Linked DNA regions of Homo sapiens: region 1 is linked to region 2. The links are contacts of gene promoters, found by promoter capture Hi-C in blood cells and fetal thymus (Javierre and others, 2016). All regions are on one chromosome and are shown on one strand. Each heading gives the region's core, a stretch centred on a gene start or on the middle of the fragment in contact. The rest is flanking DNA. Distances are from core to core; before and after follow the strand shown.

Region 1 (6,981 bases), core at 3,051-5,550, 370 kb before region 2:
CAATGTATACTACTCAGGCGACAGGTGCACTAAAATCTCAGCGTTCATCACTGTACAGTTCATCCGTGTAACCCCAAACCACCTGTACACCAAAAGGTATTGAAATTAAAAAAAAAATTTTTTTTTGACAGTCTCACTCTGTCGCCCAGGCTGAAGTGCAGTGGTGCAATCTCAGCTCACTGCAACCTCTGCCCCCTGGGTTCAAGCAATTCTCCTGCCTCAGCCCCCCAAGTATCTGGAATTACAGACATGCAACAGACACCCGGCTAATTTTTTTTGTATTTTTAGTAGAGACTGGGTTTTGCCATGTTGGCCAGGCTGGTCTTGAACTCCTGACCTCAGGTGATCTGCCCACCTTGGCCTCCCAAAGTGCTGCGATTACAGGTGTGAGCCACCGCAACCGGCCTAAAACTTTTTAATGATATAAATTATTGTCACACCACTGCACTCCAGCCTGGGTGACAGAGTGAGACTCTATCTCAAAAATAATAATAATAATAATATTATTTTCACAAACAAAAATAAACCAAGTTAGAAATAACATAATGAGGCCAGGTGTGGTGGTTCATGCCTATAATCCCAGTGCTTTGGGAGGTCAAGATAAGAGGACCACTTGAGGCCAGGAATTCACGACCAGCCTGGGCAACATAACAAGACCCATCTCTACAAAAAAGTTTAAAAAACTAGCTGGGCATGATGGCACTTGCCTATAGTCTTAGCTACTCAGGAGGAAGAGGCGGGAGGATCATCTGAGCCCAAGAGTTCCAGTTTGTGGTGACCTGTGATCACACCACTGCACTGTAGCCTGTAGATCACTGTAACCTTGAATCCTTGGGCTCAAGTGACCCTCCAGCCTCAAGAAGCCACCCTCCCAAGTAGCTAGGCCCCTATGCTTGGCTAATTTTTAACTTTTTATAGAAATAGGGTCTCACTATGCTGCCTGGGCTAGTCTCAAACTCCTGGCCTCAAGCAATCCTCCCACTGCAATGCTCCCACCTCGGCCTCTTCAAGTGCTGGGATTTTAAGTGCGAGCCACTGCACTCAGCCTGTTTGTTTGTTTGTTTGTTTGTTTGTTTGTTTGTTGAGACAAGGTTTCACTCTTGTTGCCCAGGCTGCAGTGCAATGGTGCGATCTCGGCTCACTGCAACCTCCGTCTCCCCCCGGGTTCAAGCGATTCTCCTGCCTCAGCCTCCCGAGTAGTTGGTATTACAGGCATGTGCCACCACACCTGGCTAATTTTGTATTTTTAGTAGAGATGGGGTTTCACCATGTTGGTGAGGCTGGTCTCAAACTCCTGACCTCAGATGATCCGCCCACCTTGGCCTCCCGAAGTGTTGGGATTACAGGCGTAAGCCACTGCGCCCAGTCTTGTTTTTTTTTTCGTTGTTGCTGGTTTTTTTTGTTTTTTGTTTTTTTTTTTTTTTTTTTATCAGACAGAGTCTCTCTCTGTTGCCCAGGCTGGAGTGATGTGGTGTGATTTTGGCTCACTGCAACCTCCACCTGCCGGGTTCAAGCAATTCTCCTGCCTCAGCCTCCTGAGTAGCTGGGATTACAGGCGCCCGCCACCATGCCCGGCTAATTTTTTGTATTTTTAGTAGAGACAGGGTTTCACCATCTTGGCCAGGCTGGTCTTGAACTCCTGACCTCGTGATCCACCCACCTTGGCCTCCCAAAGTGCCGGGATTAGAGGCGTGAGCCACCGCGCCTGGCCGCCTTGTTTTTTTTTTTGAGATGGAGTCTTGCTCTGTCCTCCAGGCTGGAGTGCAACGGTGCGATCTTGGCTCACTGCAACCTCTGCCCCCTGGGTTCAAGAGATTCTCCTGCCTCAGCCTCCTGAGATTACAGGCACCCACCACCATGCCCGGCTAACTTTTGTATTTTTAGTAGAGACGGGGTTTCACCATGTTGGTCAGGCTGGTCTCGAACTCCTGACCTCAGGTGATCCACCTGCCTCGGCCTCCCAAAGTGCTGGGATTACAGGCGTGAGCCACTGCGCCCGGCTCCTTGTTTGTTTTTAATGAAAGGTTTTAGTTGATTCTTAGTCAGTGTGATTTTTTTTTTTTTTTTTTTGAGACAGGGTCTCGCTCTGTCGCCCAGGCTGAAGTGTAGTGGCGCAATCTTGGCTCACTGCAACCTCAGCCTCCCGGGTTCAAGCGATTCTCCCACCTCAGCCTCCCTAGTAGCTGGGACTACATGTGTGAGCCACTATGCCTGGCTAATTTTTTTGTATTATATAATTAGTAGAGGTAGGGTTTTGCCATGTTGGCCAGGCTAGTCTTGAACTCCTGGCCTCAAGTGATCCACCCACCTCAGCCTCCCAAAGTGCTAGGATTACAGGTGTGAGCCACTGCGCCTGGCCCAGTCAGTATGATTTATTGAGCTCCTACTATATCCTTGCGAAAGCCTCTAGGAACATGGATATTTAGAAATCTGTAAGACCCAATTCCAGCCCCAGGAATTCACAGTACAGTGGGCAGCCACGAGTTAAGGCTAAGAATTGCTGAAGAGCTGTAAAAATAAAGCAAGTTTTCTTGTTTTGGAGAATAATCACAGAATTCGGTTTAAGGATTCTATGTGCTGTTGCAACTCTAGAATTTGTTGTTGTTGTTGTTGTTTGAGGCAGGGTTTCACTCTGTTGTCCAGGCTGGAATGCAGTGGCGTGATCTCAGCTCACTGCAACCTCTACTTCCTGATATCAAACAATCCTCCCACCTCAGCCTCCCAAGCAGCTGGGACTACAGGCATGCACCACCATGCCTGCCTAATTTTTTTTTTTTTTTTTTTTTTTTTGTAGAGACAGAGTTTCACCATGTTGCCCAGGCTGGTCTTGAACTCCTGGGCTCAAGTGATCTGCCCACCTCAGCCTCCCAAAGTGCTGGGATTACAGGCCTGAGCCACTGTGCCCGGCTCATCATTTTTATATGGTAGAGGTTTAAGTCAGGAATTTAGTTAGAAGGGATTAATCAGGAGTCTTCTTTCTGGGCTACCTTTACCTAGCAAACATCCTGTGTTTACTTAGACTAGGGTTCCTCAACCTCAGTAGTACAGACATTTTCAGCAAGATAATTCTTTGTTCTGGTGGTTGTCCTGTGCATTGTGGAATGTTTAGCAGCATCTCTGGCCTCTGCCTGCTAGATGCCAATAGCACCTCTCCCTTCAGATATGACAACCACAAATGTCTCCAGATATTGCCAAATTTCCCCCAGGGAGGGCGGCTAATCATTGCAGGTTGAGAACCACGTACAGCATGTTTATGATAGAAGGGAGAGGACTGTCAGGCAGTTTTGTGTGTGTTTTTAAACAATTAAAGGGCATTGCCAATACTGTGGATTTTAGCTTCTTTGGAAGTTTGATGTGAAAGGAGGCAAAAATCCTTCTTGCACATCAGCTTAAGGTTTTGCCCATATCGTATTCAAACAAAACCACATGGCTGGCACATAGTGGCTCTCAATAAATATATAATAAGTTGAATGCACTATTCAGCACATAGCTAAAGTGGTGGTGCCTCCAGGGAGGGACGTGAAACTTAAAAAGGAAAGACTGGAGTAGCTACTCAGGAGGCTGAGGCGAGAGGACTTGAGCCCAGGAGTTCGAGGCTGCAGTGTGAGCTACGATCCAGCCACGGCACTCCAGCCTGGGCAACAGCGGACGCCCAGACTCAGAATCCATGACAGACTCTGGAGCGAAGGAACAAGTTCAGGGATGTTCCACAATCACGCGATTCCCAGGACAGGAAAGGGGCCGGTGGGGGTCGCAGAGCTCGACCAAATTCTGGGCAGACTACTCATCCGGCGGCAGGAAGAGCGCGGCGCGCACCGGGCCCGCGCGCACCGGCTCGCGCCGCACCCCCGGCCGGAGAAAGTCGCGCTTGTTCTGCGCCAGGCACAGCAGCCGCCCGGGCTCGGTGTCGTGGCCGTCCAGCACTTCCAGCTCCACGGCGAAGGGCGTCCGCACGTCGCGCTTCACCAGCCGCACCAAGGCTTTCTCGGGCTCCAACGCCCACAGCAGCCCCATGGGCTGGAGCCCCGCGAAGCTGCCTCCCAGCGCGGGCGCGCGCTCCAGGTCCAGCTCGTCGCGGGCGTCGGCACGGTAGCGCGCGTGGGCCCGGAAGAGCGCGCCCTCTTCGTCGCGCAGGGACGTGCGCAGCGTGACTGGCTGCTCCGGGGCCAGGCCGCGCACTGCGATGCGCAGCGGCTCGTCCCAGCAGCAGCGGCCCGCGGGCTCCAGGATCAGCGTCGCTGCCATCCCAATCTGGGTAGAACAGGGGCGACCCAGCTCCGCGGAGTCAGTGGGCGGGCCTGGCGGCTTTGCCGAGCGCTGGAAAGTAGTCGAGGGCGGAGCCCTTAACACTACTCCCATTGGTTGGACTTGGGGACAGGCTCCAGGCCGCTGCGTGGGGCGCCTAGAATTTGTGCAAATACACCAGTGTCCCAAATGAAAGAGTATCTGCTGAAATAAGAGTTAATGACCAATCCGGCCGGGGGCGGTGGATCACGCCTGTGATCCTAGAACTTTGGGAGGCCGAGGTGGGTGGATCACACCTGAGGTTAGGAGTTCAAGACCAGCCTGACCAACAGAGTGAAACCTCATCTCTACTGAAAATACAAAATAGCCAGGTGTGGTGGCGCATGCCTGTAATCCCGGCTACTTGGGAGGCTGAGGCAGAAGAATTGCTTGAACCCAGGAGGCAGAGGTTGCATTGAGCCAAGATTGCACCATTGTACTCCAGCCTAGGCAACAAGGGCAAAACTCCGTCTAAAAAAAAAAAAAAAGAGTTAATGACTATTCCTGCAATCCAATGTGGTGAGTGTCGAAATAGAGGCACAAAAACCACTGAGAGCTAAAGGATTGAGAGAGATACAGTCCAAGAATCTAGATTTTGAAAAAGCATCCCAGGTGATTGTACTCAGGTGACCCCTTGGAGAAACATGGTCGTAATCCGTCCTTTACCCCTCAGTCCCTTACCAAGCCTTTTTTCCAGGGCTAATGGTACCTGGAGCAAAGCAGATGTTTAGGGAGGCAGACCTAGCCGAGTTCTGGTCTGACCCTGATCCTTAATATTAATACCTGGTGATCTTTAGCAAGAAACATAACCCTCTAAATTCAGTTTTCTTATCTGAAAAGGCTTATTGTGACCATTAAATGGGCTAATGTGTAAAAACACTACACTGACACACCTGTAGGTTAGTACCCAGTGAAAGTTTTGTTTTGTTTCTTACCTCACAAATCTAATCACTGGCAGAGTCCATTTTGGGTTGTATGCATACAGAGTTCTGGCAGTAAGCAAGTGGCACTCTCAGCCTGTGTAATTGAGGAGAGTTTTATAAAGGTACTATCTACAAAGGCATGGGCAAGATTTAAAAACAAAAACAATGAAACAAGATTCGGTGTAGAACCCTGAATCTGAAGGTTCAAGGGAAGGGGGCAGTCTGATAGGAGTTGTACCTTTTTTAGAAGGAACCTATGGTTTGTGGCAGGAAGGAGGAGACTATAAGTCCCTTGACTCTCCTCTTGTTTTTCAGTATCTTGCTAATGCCTCTCTTTGGCCAAACCCAACCACACAGCTCAACCTAGCTGGGAACATAGCAGGGTGGAGAAGGAAGAAGAGCATATAGTGATGCCCAGCTCAGTAAACATGTATAAACTGAACAAAAAGGTATTAGACTCTATGAAGCAAGTTCACTGTATGCTGGTTACCAACTTGTCTGAGTCCAGTGAGAAAACACATTCATATATTTAATACAACAATTTACATGAACTGGATTTATTACTTACAGATAGGCAGCAAAGAATGACAGAAGCCTAAGAATCATTGGAAACCAGTCCCCCAAGGCTCAGGAATGCTGCCTGGGTGATGGAATCTCATGTGTGTGTGCCCCACTTGCACTGCAGCTGCCCTGAGTTTTGTACTCTGGGGTCATGTGACTGCTGGGTTAAAGCATTGAAAGACATCCTGTTTGTAGGGAGGGGCTGGAATAGAGCCAGGGCTATTCCAGCCAGTCCGTCCCTCTCTCAGGATGTTACATTCCCAGCACGTTCTATGCTTGAGAACTACTAGTGAGAAAGAGGGGAGAACTGAGTCAGTCCAAGGCCAACCAGAGAACTGCCCTGCAGTCCATCCCCAACCCAGATACCTCCTTTAGTAAACCTAGTACATTTCATATGCCCTCCAGACCCCCAGGATCTGGAGGCAGAGGTTTGTCTGATCATATTAATATGGCACCTTGGTCGGGCACGGTGGCTAATGCCTGTAATCCCAGCACTTTGGGAGGCCGAGGGGGGCGGATGACTTGGGGTCAGGAGTTTGAGACCAGCCTGGCCAACATGGTGAAACCCTGTCTCTACTAAAAATACAAAAATTAGCTGAACGTGGCAGCACGCGCCTGTAATCCCAGCTATTCAGAAGGCGGCGGCAGGAGAATTGCTTGAACCCGGGAGGTGGTGATTGCAGTGAGCCGAGATCTCGCCACTGCTCTCCAGCCTGAGCGACAGAGCAAGACTCCCTCTAAAAGAAAAAAAAAAAAAAGCGACACTTGACTGAAACAATCTCGGTGCAACATTGTTAAGCCATGGCCGGAATATATTGCATTAGGCCCAGGAGACTACTATAATAAGCAGGATGATCAGGCTTGCTTGGAGCTGTGGCCTACCCCCAAGTCCTAGTGATCCAGGCAAGAAGTTTTGAGGTCCAAGAAAGATTCTTTAGGTAGCCACTCTGACTGCAACCAGTAGGCCTGCTTCCAGATCCTCTACCTATGTCTCCACCATGCCTGAGGTGTTTATCCAGGTACACCAGGAGGTGTTGGCAGTGGCACACACTCCTCCCAATTAGTCTAAAAAAAAAAAGGGTAGAGGAATTCTGTTGTTTAAAACAACCTGGCCAGGCGCGGTGGCTCATGCCTGTAATCTCAGCACTTTGGGAGGCTGAGGCGGGTGGATCACGAGGTCAGGAGTTTGAGACCAGTCTGGCCAACATGGTGA
Region 2 (7,644 bases), core at 3,502-6,001:
ACAATCCACTTCTCTGTCTGCTCAGCTCCCATCTCCCCTTCTGGTAATAATGCCCTGTTTTCCTTGAGGGGCCACCTCTCTCCCGCAGAGTTTGAACGGAGCTCCCCAAATGTGGGTTTGGGGAGGTTGGAGTGGTTCAGGGTAAGTCCCAAACCAAGACGAATCAGAGACAACCCCCGGTGGCTAGAACTCCTGGGAATGAGGCCCCCTTTCCCTGGGAATTCCCTTTCTAGGGAGCAGAAGGTCGGAGCAGCTGGCGGCCACCTCCACACCTCCTGGGAAGAATGGGCCAGATCCTGATGCTGGACCCAAGGAGAGGAAAGCCGAGTGGCACCTCATTCATGCGCCTGCGGCTGTCCCTGCTGTTTGTTTTTCTGAAGTCGGTTTTAGCCGGATTTCTGCCACCCAGAGGGTTTCTCTTATTGTAGGGCTAGCGTTCTCCAAGGATGAAGGTGAGGGGCCATAGGGCATCTGTGATGCCTGCAAGGTACCCTAGGAGCTGGGCTTGGTGTCCTGGTAACTTGAGAAGACACCAAGCTCATGGCAGCTACCTGGGCCTATGGGTGATGGACAGGGAAACACCCGCACTGAGCCCCCAGGCAGCCCGGAGGCAGGGAGGGGCTGGGGCACCACTCACCCGGCAGCTGCCATCCACACAGACATCCCTCTTGCCAGGCTCGCAGGGCGTCCCATCAACCACAGCCTCCCTGTGCTTGTAGTAGAAGTTCTCCCCCTTGGGAATGCAGTTCAGTTCACACTTGTTTGGGGCTGGGGTGGGCAGGAAGGCAAGACTGAGATCCTGAGGTTGATGATGCCCCTCCCCAAGACCCAAGGCTTACCCTAGCAACAGGAAAGCATGGGTCAGAAAGCCCTGCAGCAGGCCCCGCAGAGCACAGATCCCCGCCCCATCCCCAGGAGAAGGGACCGTCTCCATGAATCTGTTGCACCTCTAAGGATCAAGTCGAAGAAAAATCCCAGAATCAGGAAAAAGTGAAACACTTAAAGAAGTCTACCTCAGCATTATTTACCACAGCTGAGGTGGTTACAACAGGCTACTTTTTTTTTTTTTTTTTTTTTGAGGTGGAGTCTCGCTCTTGTTGCCCAGGCTGGAGTGCAGTGGCACGATCTCGACTCACTGCAACCTCCGCCTCCCTAGTTTAAGCAATTCTCCTGCCTCAGCCCCCCTAGTAGCCGGGACTACAGGCACGCGCCACCACACCCGGCTAAGTTTTGTACTTTTAGTAGAGATGGGGTTTCACCATGTTGGGCAGGCTGGTCTCGAACTCCTGACCTCAGGTGATCCACCTGCCTCAGCCTCCCAAAGTGCTGGGATTACAGGTGTAAACCACTGTGCATGGCCATAACAGGCTACTCTTTAAATAAATTATCAATGGAATATTACACATGCTGACTATGCAGTTACAAATGATGATTGTGAAGACTATATGGTGTGGGAAGATGCTTAAAACACAGAATGCAAAATGGTGATTACTATGCAATAATTACAAATATGTAAGCATATATGGAGAGAATAATGTGAAAGGGGCTAAAATGAAATGCTAACAGTGATCTTGTGAAAGGGGCAGGATGAGGATAACTTTTTTCTGGTTTTAATGTTTTTCAGATGGGATCTCACTCTGTCTCCCAGGCTGGAATGCAGAGGCACGATCAAAGCTCACAGCAGCCTCTACCTCCGAGACTCAAGTGGTCCTCCAGCCTCAGTCTCTCGAATAGTTGGGACTATAGGCACATGCCATCATACCCAGCTAATTTTTTTATTTTTTGTAGAGACAGGGTCTCACTACGATACCCAGGCTGGTTTCAAACTCCTGGGCTCAAATGATCCTCCTGCCTCAGCCTTCCAAAGCACCAGGATTACAAGCAGGAGCCACTGTACCTGGCCTGGTTTTAATTTTTTTTTCTTCTTTTGGAGACAAGATCTCACTCTGTCGTCCGGGCTGGAGTGCAGTGGTGTGATCTTGACTCACTGCAGCCTCAACTTCCTGGGCTCAAGTGATCCTCCCACCTCAGCTTCTCGAATAGCTGGGACTACATGGGTGTGCAACCATGCCTAGCTAATCTTTGTATGCCTGGCTAATCTTCGTATTTTTGGTAGAGATGGGGTTTCACACATTGCCCAGGCTTGTCTCAAATTCCTGGACTCAAGTGATCCTCCTGCCTCAGCCTCCCAAAGTGCTGGGATTACGGGCATGAGCCACTGTACCCTACCTTAATTTTTATATTTATCTAAATATATACACATTTTAAAACAACCCAAAAGTACAAACAGGATTATAATCATCTCCATACCATGGAAGGTATCCCTCTACTCTCTTTTTAGACTTTCCCCTGTGTTCCAATTTTTCTATCATGTGACTATAATCAAATTATTTTTGACATGTGTCCACTTCAGGATCCAGGGGGAATTCTGAAAGCTAGAGTCCCACTGGGTCACGCCCACAGCCACAATCCCCACAACACACACACACACACACACACACATAGAGGATATGAGACTCCCACTGGGCCATGCCCACAGCCACAATCCCCACAACACACACAGACACACACACACACACACAGAGGATATGAGACTCCCACTGGGCCATGCCCACAGCCACGATCCCCACAACACACACACGCGCACACACACACACACACACACACACACACACAGAGGATATGAGACTCCCACTGGGCCACACCCACAGCCACAATCCCAACACACACACACACACACACACACACACACACACACACACACACAGAGGATATGAGACTCCCAGTGGGCCATGCCCACAGCCACGGTCCCCACAACACACACACACACACACACACACACACACACACACACACACACACGGAGGATATGAGACTCCCACTGGGCCACGCCCACAGCCACGATCGCCACCACACACACACACACACACACACACACACACACACACACACACGGGATAAGAGACTCCCACTGGGCCACGCCCACTGCCACTATCGGCACAACACACACACACACGCACAGAGGACATGAGACTCCCACTGGGCCATGCCCACAGCCACGATCCCCACAACACACACACACACACACGCACACACACACAGGATAAGAGACTCCCACTGGGCCACACCCACTGCCACGATCGGCACAACACACACACACACGCACAGAGGACATGAGACTCCCACTGCGCCATGCCCACAGCCACGATCCCCACAACACACACACACACATACACAGGATATGAGACTCCCACTGGGCCATGCCCACAGCCACGATCCCCACCACACACACACAGAGAGAATATAAGTGCTCCTTGATCTGGAATCTAGAGTGCCACAGGGTCTCCAGAGGTCATTTGCCGCAAGCAGGGAAAACGAACACTCAGAAGACTTGTCTTGAGGAATCTTCTGATTCATCTAAAATGCTTAATGACATACATGTTGGTGCTTACCTGGGTGTTTTTTCCCTGAACTGTATTTCTCTAAAAATTAATGACTTATACCCTCCTCAGAGGTGCACAGACCATCTCCTCTGGCCCCCAGATCCTTGATAAATGAAGTCTTGGTGTACCAAGCCCCTTCCAGCCCCTCCTGCAGGATGACCGTGGGGCACCATTGCTACCGCTCCCGGGGTTCCCCATCTCCGTCTCTGTGCGACGGGAGGAACGCTTCCCATAGCAGACTGAGCAAAAACAGGGCTCAAAATGGTATAGACACACCATAGCTTCGTTTGAAAATATACATACATAAGGGGAGAAAGGATGGAAAGACCTCAAAATGGCTGCCATGGTGTTGCCACGGGCATGTGCTGGGGGGAGCAGGGGTACTGGTGATTGATTCATTATGGGTTGATCGATGGGGTATTTGACAAATGCTGGCTCTGGCAGCACATATACTAAAATTGGAACGATACAGAGATTAGCACAGCCCCTGCCCCCTTAGCTGGTATGGCATGCAAATTCATGAAGCATTCCATATTTACTTTAAAAATTATTTGGGAGGCTGAGGTGGAAGGATTGATTGAGCTTGGGAGGTACATGCTGCCCAGCTGACATGACACTGCTGCACTCAAGCCTGGGCAAGATCCTGTCTCAAAAAAAAAAAAAAAAGAAAGAAAGAAAAAGGAAAAGAAAAAAAGGAAAGGAAAGGAAGAGAGAAAAAAGAGCAAGCGAGAGAGAACGAGAGAGAAAGAAAAGAAAAAAAGATAAAGAAAAAGAGAGACCTCTTGCTCTCTCTCGAGGGACCTCTGCAGACCCTCTCCTCCCCAAAGGTGGGTCCTGTGGTCTACAAGATTTCCTGTACATTGCGAGCCCCCGCGCCCACCCAAAAAAAAAAAAAAAAAAAAAAAAAAAAATTGGTCGGGTACAGTGGCTCACGCCTGCAATCCCAGCACTCTGGGAGGTCGCTGCCGGCGGATCCCTTGAGCCCAGGAGTTCAAGACCAGCCTGGGCAACACAGTGAGACTGTCTCTAATATATATATATATGACAACGCCTCTATAATACGGCAATAGGAACTGTGGCATCAACGTAGGTATACAAGAGGCCCCGAGAGAGCGAGTCCCGGCCGCGCTCACCGCTGTAGTAGGGCAGCCACCGATACCGCCGCCCCTGGAACTCCGCTCCGTCGAACTCCGCGCACTGCTCGGCCCGGAAGTCCCGGGCGCCGTCGGGGCAGCTCTGCGGGGCGGAGGGGAAGTCGGGATCCAGGAGGGCGGAGTCCGAGGTCCGCCCACCTCCCGCCCCGCCCGAGCCCAGGGAGCCCAGGAGTCTCCCTTGCCTGCCCCATCGGAGCCGCCGGAGGTGGAGTCCGCCCCCCGGACCCCCGAACTCCTGTGCGTGCCCCTCCATGGTGCTCTAGGCTGTGGAGGGCAAGGCCAGTCCCCGGGAGCAGGGTGAGGAAGGGGCCCCCACGCAGCCCTGCTGTGGATTGGCGGGAGGACCCCAGGCTGGGCCAACCCAGCAGCCCGCGGCCAGGAGCGGGCATCCCAATGGGGAAATCGGCCAGGAGGGGCTGGGGAAGCTGGTGCCTTCGCCCGCGCCCCGTGAGCTTTACCTCCGTGCGACAAGAGCGGTGGCTCCGGGCGGGGCCCACGCAGCTGGAGCCTCCATCTCTCCTGCGGGACCAGAGCACCGGGAAGACCTGACCGAGACCCAACGTCCCTGCCCCCGTTCTGGGGCTCTCTGCAGGCCCCAACTTCTGCGGGACTCTCCAGTGGGAGCAGCAAGGTGAGAGGGTGTCCCCCGACCCCACCCCGTAAATCCCCCAGGTGGGAGTGAGCGACCCATGTTGGTACTCCAGAGAAGCGGGACTCAGAGCCCTACCCACCCTATAGTTTGGATTTAAGGCGGGACCACTCCACTGCATCTTAGGCAGATTCCCAGAGAAGACCCGAGGTGCATGAGATATAATACCCACCCGCTTGGCACAGCCATCCTGCGATCTAAGCAGGACATCAGTATAAGGCTCTTAGGATCATTCCTGGTCTCTCATTCCTCCTCACATAGGGTTCTCAGGAACAACCCCTATACAAACCGGGACAGAGGCACCTCACTACTCCTTCTGTGCCCCACCTTCTCCACTGACCCTGCCGGAGTGCAGCACACACAGCAAGCATTTAATAAATCGCTTGAAGTGGGGAACATCTGTACTCGGTAAAGAAACCACAGGAATTGGGAACTGCCGGTTGAAGATTATTTACCAGTTCCAGCAAAATTGACTGCACCTGCCATACTGCAGGCCGGTGCAGCATCAGGAGCTGGAGACCAGGGGCAACAGGCAGCACGCGTGCTCCAGCTCAGAGTGGAAGGCCCTGGGAAATGGTTTGATTTCCTGCGCTGAACTGATGCTGCTTCCAGAATGAATCTGCTCCTTGGTGGGTTCTGCTGATGTGGCCAGTGCTAGCCTAGGCCACGACCACCTAGCCCACCACCCAGAAGGCAGCATCCCCTGCTCCTGCTTTAACAAGCTGGCCCATTTTCATCTCTCCTACCTCTGGGAGTAGCAGGGGCGCTCCCGGAAGCTGACACCCCCTCCACAGGTCCGGCTGCAGGGGCTCCACTGGCTCCAGGGTCCCCAGGTGTCACTCTGCCGCCTCACCTTGGGAGCCTGCAGAAGACAGGACCATGCATCAGCATTGCCCACTCACAGCCTGAGCCCAGAGGCCCCTCCAAAGATGCTCTGCCTAAAACCCTCCCCTACCCATCAAGGAGTCTGGGATTCTCCCTTCCAGGGCCCACCTTTAGGACTCAGCAACACTGCCGGGCACCCCAAAACATATTCCTTTTCAGAATTAGCCTGCTTTCCTCATAAGGAGCTGAGAGCCAGGCCTGGAGGGCGGGAGCAGGAGCAGCTGGGAAGAGTTTGGAGTTTCAGGGGCCACTGGAGGGGAGGGACCCTACAGCCAGGGGCAGTTTGAGGGTCCAGGCATTTGTAGGTTAACCGTGATGTAGGGGAGGGGGGCCTAAAAGAAAATAAAGGGAAGCAACGTGGGGGGATCCTGCTAATCTGGCCGAGACTCCCAGGAGTACCCCAATATTCATCCCCTCCTTCTCCCATTGTGAGAGAATGCTTGAAAACTTGACTCAGCTGGGTACCTGGCTGCCCAAAATTTAAAAAAAAAATACATTTCCTGGACTGCCTGCAGCTAACTGTGGCTACATCACTTAGTTCTCATCAGTGAGATGTAAATACAAGTGTTGGGCAGCTGCCGCAAATAATCTCCTCAAGAGAGAGCCTGCGTGAGCCTTTGTCCTTTTCTCCTTCCTCCTGTACTCTTTCAGGCTGTCTGGGAAGCAGATGTGATGGCTGGAGTTGGAGCAGCCTTTTAGACTGTGAGGTAACTTGGAAATAGAGGCTTCAAACAGTGAAGCAAAGATAGAGGGACTCTAGAGCCTGGAGGATTTTGTGCAACAGAATAGCCCCAGACTTCTGACCCCTGGGTGTTTATATGAGAGAGGAATCATGTCTGTCTTATTGAAGAACTGTTATTTGGGACTCTACACAGGATTATAATCCTAGCAGGTACACTTTCCCACCAGAAAGATTGGACCCCTTGCAGCTGGCATCAGGAATCCACATGCCACACACACATTATCTCATTTCATCCTCACAACAACCCGACAGACCCCATTGCATGAATAAGAAAAGTGAGGCAGAGAGAGGAAACCACAGGGGAAGAAGTGGGCACAGTAGCCGGCCAGCCTCACTGCAGTCCTCTGCTCCCCTGCCGAGGCTGTGCCCCCACCCACCTGGGGGAATCAAATGAGACACTAGATGATTCCCTACAGGGTTGGACAGGGATTAGATGTAACTTCACAATTTTCCCAGGAGGCATATGGTGTACATGCAAACATTTGCTGGAAGGGGACTTTCTTTTAGGGTATCACCACTTAAGACTCAAGGAAAAATACCATTCCCACTTTTCAGAGAAAGAGCTCAATGGTCACACAGAAAAGCAGCCGGGCACGGTGGCTCATGCCTGTAATCCCAGCACTTTGAGAGGCCAAGGCAGGCAGATCACCTGAGGTCAGGAGTTCGAGACCAGCCTACCCAACATGGCGAAACCCCGTCTCTACTAAAACTACAAAAAATTAGCCAGGCGTGGCGGCGGGTGCCCGTAATCCCAGCTAGTCGGGAGGCTGA

Evidence for each region. The method cuts DNA at HindIII sites, captures the fragments that hold promoters and counts their contacts. A CHiCAGO score of 5 or more calls a contact.
Region 1: the fragment with the promoter of ACOT6 here is called in contact with the fragment with the promoter of PAPLN-AS1 in region 2 in 3 of 17 cell types (erythroblasts, monocytes and total B cells); the score reaches 6.4 in erythroblasts.

The regions. Positions count from the first base shown.
Region 1 is chr14:73,609,836-73,616,816 of GRCh38, reverse strand. ACOT6 (acyl-CoA thioesterase 6) reads right to left here and starts at 4,300. Exons shown (of 3, transcript NM_001365788.1): 1 at 3,785-4,300. The coding sequence starts at 4,245. It also overlaps a transcript of HEATR4 not described here. RefSeq lists enhancers at 1-100, 4,040-4,089, 3,623-4,122, 4,140-4,189 and a silencer at 2,720-2,964. The HindIII fragment of the contact is 17,987 bases long and covers 1-6,981 here.
Region 2 is chr14:73,243,108-73,250,751 of GRCh38, reverse strand. PAPLN-AS1 (PAPLN antisense RNA 1) reads left to right here and starts at 4,751. Exons shown (of 2, transcript NR_135248.1): 1 at 4,751-5,228; 2 at 5,508-6,734. PAPLN (papilin, proteoglycan like sulfated glycoprotein) reads right to left here. Exons shown (of 27, transcript NM_001365906.3): 3 at 5,993-6,108; 4 at 5,056-5,116; 5 at 4,577-4,679; 6 at 638-768. It also overlaps the pseudogene RNU6-419P. RefSeq lists silencers at 2,099-2,178, 4,647-4,916 and enhancers at 2,990-3,491, 3,630-3,699. The HindIII fragment of the contact is 12,638 bases long and covers 1-7,644 here.